2 separate regions of the Homo sapiens genome follow, and region 1 is linked to region 2. The links are contacts of gene promoters, found by promoter capture Hi-C in blood cells and fetal thymus (Javierre and others, 2016). All regions are on one chromosome and are shown on one strand. Each heading gives the region's core, a stretch centred on a gene start or on the middle of the fragment in contact. The rest is flanking DNA. Distances are from core to core; before and after follow the strand shown. Region 1 holds the start of FOSB (FosB proto-oncogene, AP-1 transcription factor subunit). Region 2 holds the start of EML2 (EMAP like 2).

The links. The method cuts DNA at HindIII sites, captures the fragments that hold promoters and counts their contacts. A CHiCAGO score of 5 or more calls a contact.
Region 1: a contact is called between the fragment with the promoter of FOSB here and the fragment with the promoter of EML2 in region 2, in 14 of 17 cell types (erythroblasts, fetal thymus, endothelial precursors and 11 more). The highest score is 11.1, in erythroblasts.

What each region holds. Positions count from the first base shown.
Region 1 is chr19:45,466,585-45,469,284 of GRCh38, reverse strand. It overlaps FOSB (FosB proto-oncogene, AP-1 transcription factor subunit), which reads right to left and starts at 1,289. Exons shown (of 4, transcript NM_006732.3): 1 at 573-1,289. The coding sequence starts at 698. RefSeq lists an enhancer at 287-1,188 and a silencer at 1,373-1,652. The HindIII fragment of the contact is 2,687 bases long and covers 196-2,700 here.
Region 2 is chr19:45,638,079-45,640,778 of GRCh38, reverse strand. It overlaps EML2 (EMAP like 2), which reads left to right and starts at 1,382. Exons shown (of 19, transcript NM_012155.4): 1 at 1,382-1,422; 2 at 1,906-1,934; 3 at 2,145-2,274. The coding sequence starts at 1,403. MIR330 (microRNA 330) reads left to right here and starts at 1,692; the gene lies at 1,692-1,785. RefSeq lists silencers at 1,088-1,177, 1,198-1,477, 2,174-2,468 and enhancers at 853-1,704, 2,174-2,468, 1,705-2,556. The HindIII fragment of the contact is 2,349 bases long and covers 1-1,970 here.

The DNA of each region.
Region 1 (2,700 bases), core at 40-2,539, 170 kb after region 2:
GTGCGTGCCCCGCGTCAGACGGAGGATTCCAGCGCGTCAGCCGTTACGCACGGGTCCCCCGTTACGTCTCCGCGCAGGAGGCGGAGGCAGCGCGGCTGAGGGTTCGAGGCCCCTCTTCCCGATGGGTGGAGGGCGACCCGGCACCGAAGTGGGCGCTCCGAAGGAGGAGGAAAGGAAAAGAGACTGCTGGAAGCTTCCCCGGGATTTCCCCCACCTGCCTAACTGCGCTAGCTTCAGGTCTGGGACCCGAGCAGGGGGCAGTCCCGGGGCCGGCTCAAAGTTCTCAGCCCCGCTACCGCATACACGTTGCATTGAGCAGCGCATTACCCACCCCACCCCCACCTCGCCCCAAAGCCTACCCTCCCTGCCGCGTTCCCTCCTTGCGCTCCACGCACGCAACCAATTGCAAACATCTCCCGACTCTTTGCAGTTTGCAAAGTGCGCTGTGAGCCTTTTCCATCTCAGATCTAGGGTTCTGATGCGCCTTTTTGTGGGGGTTGGGGTTTATTCTTTTCACCCTTGACTTAAAAAATAAAACCTACAAAGCAGCACCCCTACTATCAAAAACTTACCTGGGAGGCGGCGGCGGTGGGTGGACTGCCGAAGGAGTCCACCGAAGACAGATATTGAGACTCGGCAGAGGGTGAGGAGCTGCACCGGGAGCCGGAGTCGTAGTCTCCGGGGAAAGCCTGAAACATTTCCCTGGGCACAGGGGGGCCCCTGTGACCACGCTGAGGTCGCCGGGAAGCCAAGGCTATGGCCGGGTTGGGGAAGTAAGGTGCAAGTCCGGGGTGAGCCGTGGGAGTCCCCGGTGAGCTGAGCGAGTCCTCAAAGTACGCTGTCCGGGGAAGCTCGGGGAAGGAGCAACGTCCCGTTCCAACAATGGCAAAGTTTCTGTGCAGTCTTCCTGCGGTGCCCAGGCCCCCACAGGATGCCGCTGTACCTCTTGAAAGTGCAGGCTCCGTAGGACCCAGGGGCGAGGGAGGGGTTGCTCCCCCAGGGGCAGAAAGCGCTGTCCCGCTGTACAGAATCAGCTTCAGCTACGGTCTCCTCCACGCGTCCGGCGGGTCCCACGGGGGGAGGGGAGTAATAAAGAAGACCAAAAAAAGTAAGTCGGTCCTCCAAAAGAAAATGAAGAAATATCTGGAAGAATCTTTCCAAAAACTTTCTCCCCGGAAAAAAAAAGATTAATGAAATTTCATAACCCCCAAGAAGAACCACAACAATCAAGTTTCCAAGTCTTGGTTCCGCGTGTCCCTGCCGTGGCCGTAGCTCTGAGTCTTATGAATGAAGCACAGACCCGCCAGCCTGTATTTATATGCCCGGGACCCGCCCCCCTGCTTACGTCACCCGCCCCTTGCTGGACAAACTTCCCCAAATCTCCGGCCCCGCCAAATCGAGTCCCGCACTGTCCAGCAAGAGGTCTGTTCTAGACTCGATCTGGTCACTTGCATGACCCTCGGGGCCCTGGGGGTCTCGGGGGTTGCGTTCCGGGCCACTCGGCGGGAGGGGATCCCGGCCCCGCCTTCCCGGAGTTCCTGTGACGCAATTAGCCATATAAGGAGCTCGGCCGGCGCGGCGGAGTGTTTGTTTGGTATCCTAGCAATGACGTCAGAGGGAATCCCTCGCTCGCTCGCGCGCGCGCCCGCGCCCCGCCCGCGCCTGCGCAGTGCAACGCCGCCCCGGGGGCTGGTAATAATAGGCGCTTAGACTAGCCCCGCAGGGACCCCGCTGACCCGGGCGGGGAAGACCCCAGCCTGCAGGTCCCCTTCACCTCTGGCGCCCCCACCTACCCTGTTCTACCGATGGTGCAGCGCCCCCATTCGAGAAGAAGAGCAGATCTCCAAAAGGAGACCCTGATTAGTGTGGTGTGGTCACGTAGGTGGGGAAACTGAGTCCCGAGCGGGCTGTGATGCTCAGGTGAAAGTGGAGGTAATGGAGGGATTCCGAGGCTCGTCCTGGTTTCTGTCCTGATTCGCTGTGCGAGCTTAGGAAATGTTTTCCCTCTCTGAGCTTTAGCTTTAATCTTCCCCGCTGGGCAAAGGATGTGTGTCTTGGACCCTGCTGGCCTTACAGGTCCGGCGTTTGGGAGGGATGCGGATTTGGAGGAGATGGGAAATGAAACTTAGAGAGAAGCCTCTCTTCTGATGGTGTTGGTAGCCTCTCCTTCCACCTTTTAATCCACCCGGAGACAAAGAATGTGTAAGAGGGAGGGGATATTATTATTAATTCTAATAATAATAATTAATGCCTTGTATTTGGCACTTGCCAAGCACAGCTCCTGTGCTACGCCTTTCAGTAGAAGATTTGTAATCCTTAAAACAGCTCTGGAAGGTTAAGAGAGAAAAATCTTCATTTTATAAAAGAAAAAAATGATACTCAGGGAGGTTAAATGACTTGCCCAAGATCCCATCACAAGAAATTCAAACTCAGAATTGTCAAACTCCAGATTTCCTACCCTTTCCATTTCTTTTCTGATTTCTGAGACCTGCCTGGTTGGATGAAACTCCCTGAAAAACCTGTGTCTGGGGTTTTTTTAAATGATAATGGCAATATTAGTAGCTTTCACTTGTCAGGTCTTTTTTTTTTTTTTTTTTTTTTTTTTTTTGAGACGGAGTCTTGCTCTGCCGCCAGGCTGGAGTGCAGTGGCGATCTCGGCTCACTGCAACCTCCGCCTCACCTTAGCCTCTCGAGTTGCTG
Region 2 (2,700 bases), core at 133-2,632:
GTTCGAGACCAGGCTGGGCAAAATAGCGAGCCCTCGTCTTTACTAAAAATGAAAATAAATTAGGCCTGGCGCGGTGGCTCACGCCTGTAATCCCAGCACTTCGGGAGGCCTAGGCGGGTGGATCACAAGGTCAAGAGATCGAGACCATCCTGGCCAACATGGTGAAACCCCCTGTCTATTAATAATACAAAAATGGGCGTGGTGGCGCGTGCCTGTAGTCCCAGCTACTCGGGAGGCTGAGGCAGGAGAATCACTTCAACCCGGGAGGCGGAGGTTGCAGTGAGCTGAGATCGCGCCACTGCACTCCAGCCTGCTGACAGAGCAAGACTCCGTTAAACAAACAAACAAAAAACAAAAAACAAAAAACAAAAAAAAAAAGAGAGAGAAAGAAAATAGCCGGGCGTGCTGGCCTTCGCTTGTAGACCCAGCTACTTGGGAGGCTGCGGCAGGAGGCTCACTTAAGCCTAGGAAATTCGAGGTTTCAGTGAGCCATGATCACGCCATTGCACTCCAGTTTGGTCGACAGAGCCACACCCTGTATCAAAAACAAAACAAAACAAAAATCACCCTAAGGCTGGAGTTATGGTGCAGTGGGCGTGGTCAGCGCTAGGAGGCCACGCAAGGGCAAGACCAAGGTCAAAAGCTGCACATTTCAACTCTGCTCAAACATAGCAAACACAAATACAGCGTTGTGTATACTCCAGGCACTTCCCAATAATTAACCAATTTCACCCTCGCAACTACCCCCGGGAGGTGTGAGTACTCTTATTTATTTATTTATTTTGAGACGGAGTCTTGTTCTCGTTGCCCAGGCTGGAGTGCAATGACACAATCTCAGCTCACTGTAACCTCTGCCTCCCGAGTTCGAATGATTTTCCTGCCTCAGCCTCCCAAGTAGCTGGGATTACAGGCGCCAGCCACCACGCCAGGCTAAGTTTTGTATTTTTAGTAGAGACGGGGTTTCACCACGTTGGCCAGGCTGGTCTTGAACTCCTGACCTCAGGTGATCTGCCCGCCTCGGCCTCCCAAAGTGCTGGGATTACAGGCATGAGCCACCGCGCCCGGCCGGGTACTCTTATTATCCCCATTTTTTAAATGAGGAAACCGAGGCAGAGGTTGGACGACCTGTGTACACTGCTAGGAATTAGCAGAACTGGGGTTTTAACTCAAGCAGGCGCGCTCCCGAGTCCATGTTCTCAACCACTCTCCCCCACCCACCCCGAAAGAACCTGGGATCGGGAGTCCACAGCCCGGGATGTGTGACCCGGTGGGACCCTCCGGCTCCAGGGGTGGCTGTGGAGGGCGGGGCAGGGGCGCGGCGGCCCGGGCGCCTCCCAGGGCCGGAAGCGGCAGAGCCGGTCCCGGCTCCACCCCCGGCCCCGAAGCTCCGCCACCCGCCGCCATGAGTAGCTTTGGAGCTGGGTGAGACCCTTTCGCAGACCACCCCCCATCTCCTCTCCGCGCTCCCGGGGCTTAGATCTCAGGTTTCACCCAACCCCTGGGACCCAGACCGGCGTGGGGACACGCCCCTTCCCTTAAACTCTCCCCGTTTCTCCCTCTGCTTGACGTTTGGTGTGCTGGGGGAACTGCGGGTGGGGGGCGCTGGGGAGCACCTTGCTGATTAGGAGGGAAGGGTCCTTGGTGACTCCCTTCTTCCAGGATCGCGTCCCTGCCACTTCGTGCTGTGTGATCTTTGGCGATCACTGCCTCTCTGGGCCTGTGTCTTAGGCTCTGCAAGATCAACCGAGCAAAGCACACGGCCTGCAGAGAGGCAGCGCTCTGCCCCTTACTCGGCCCCGTTTTCATCGGAGACCTCCGGGGAGCGGTGGGGGTGGAGGAATGGTTTCTCCCCTTTTCTGAACTGAATACTAAGACCCTTTTTTTTTCTTTGTCCTTTCCTGACAGCAAAACCAAAGAAGTTATCTTCAGTGTGGGTGAGTGGGGAGATGGGGAAGGGCTCGGTGGAAGCTTGCTTGTTGGGGTGACAGGCTGGAGCCAGAGGTCAGGAGTCTTGGCTACTGGGTCTTTGCCTCTCTGGCCTCAGTTTCCCTGCCTTTAAAAAAATAAATAAATAAAGCTGGAAGAGGAGAGGGAATAGGGATGGGGCTGGTGTCAGTGCCTGACCTCTGGGGGTGTCCTGGCAGAGGATGGCTCCGTGAAAATGTTCCTGAGGGGCCGCCCTGTGCCCATGATGATCCCAGACGAGCTGGCACCCACCTACAGCCTGGACACACGCTCGGAGCTGCCTTCTTGCCGGCTCAAGCTGGAGTGGGTGTATCCTTTTGCTGGAATCTCCTTGGTGCTCCCATCCCCCCAGGAGGAAATAGAAAGGCGGTCAAGGCAGCTCAGGCCTGTAATCTCAGCACTTTGGGAGGATCGTTTGAGGCCAAGAGTTTGAGACCTGCCTGGGCAACACACAAAACAAGCACAGCACGTTCAAGGGCTATGTGGCCAGAGTGGGATTGGTGCATTTGAGCAAAAAGAGTTGGGAATGGCTGGAAGCCCGGGCTCTGGAGTCTGACAGAGATGGGTTCAAACCCCAGTCCAGCCCGTACCTGGCCGTGTGACCCTGGAAAAGTCGTCTTGACTCTGAAAAATGAATTTTATGATCTCAGGTCCATAGACCTGTGAAATAATGTGTAAAGGTACTGAGCTCATAGTATGTGCCCCATGCACAGGGACTGATAAAACACTAACTCA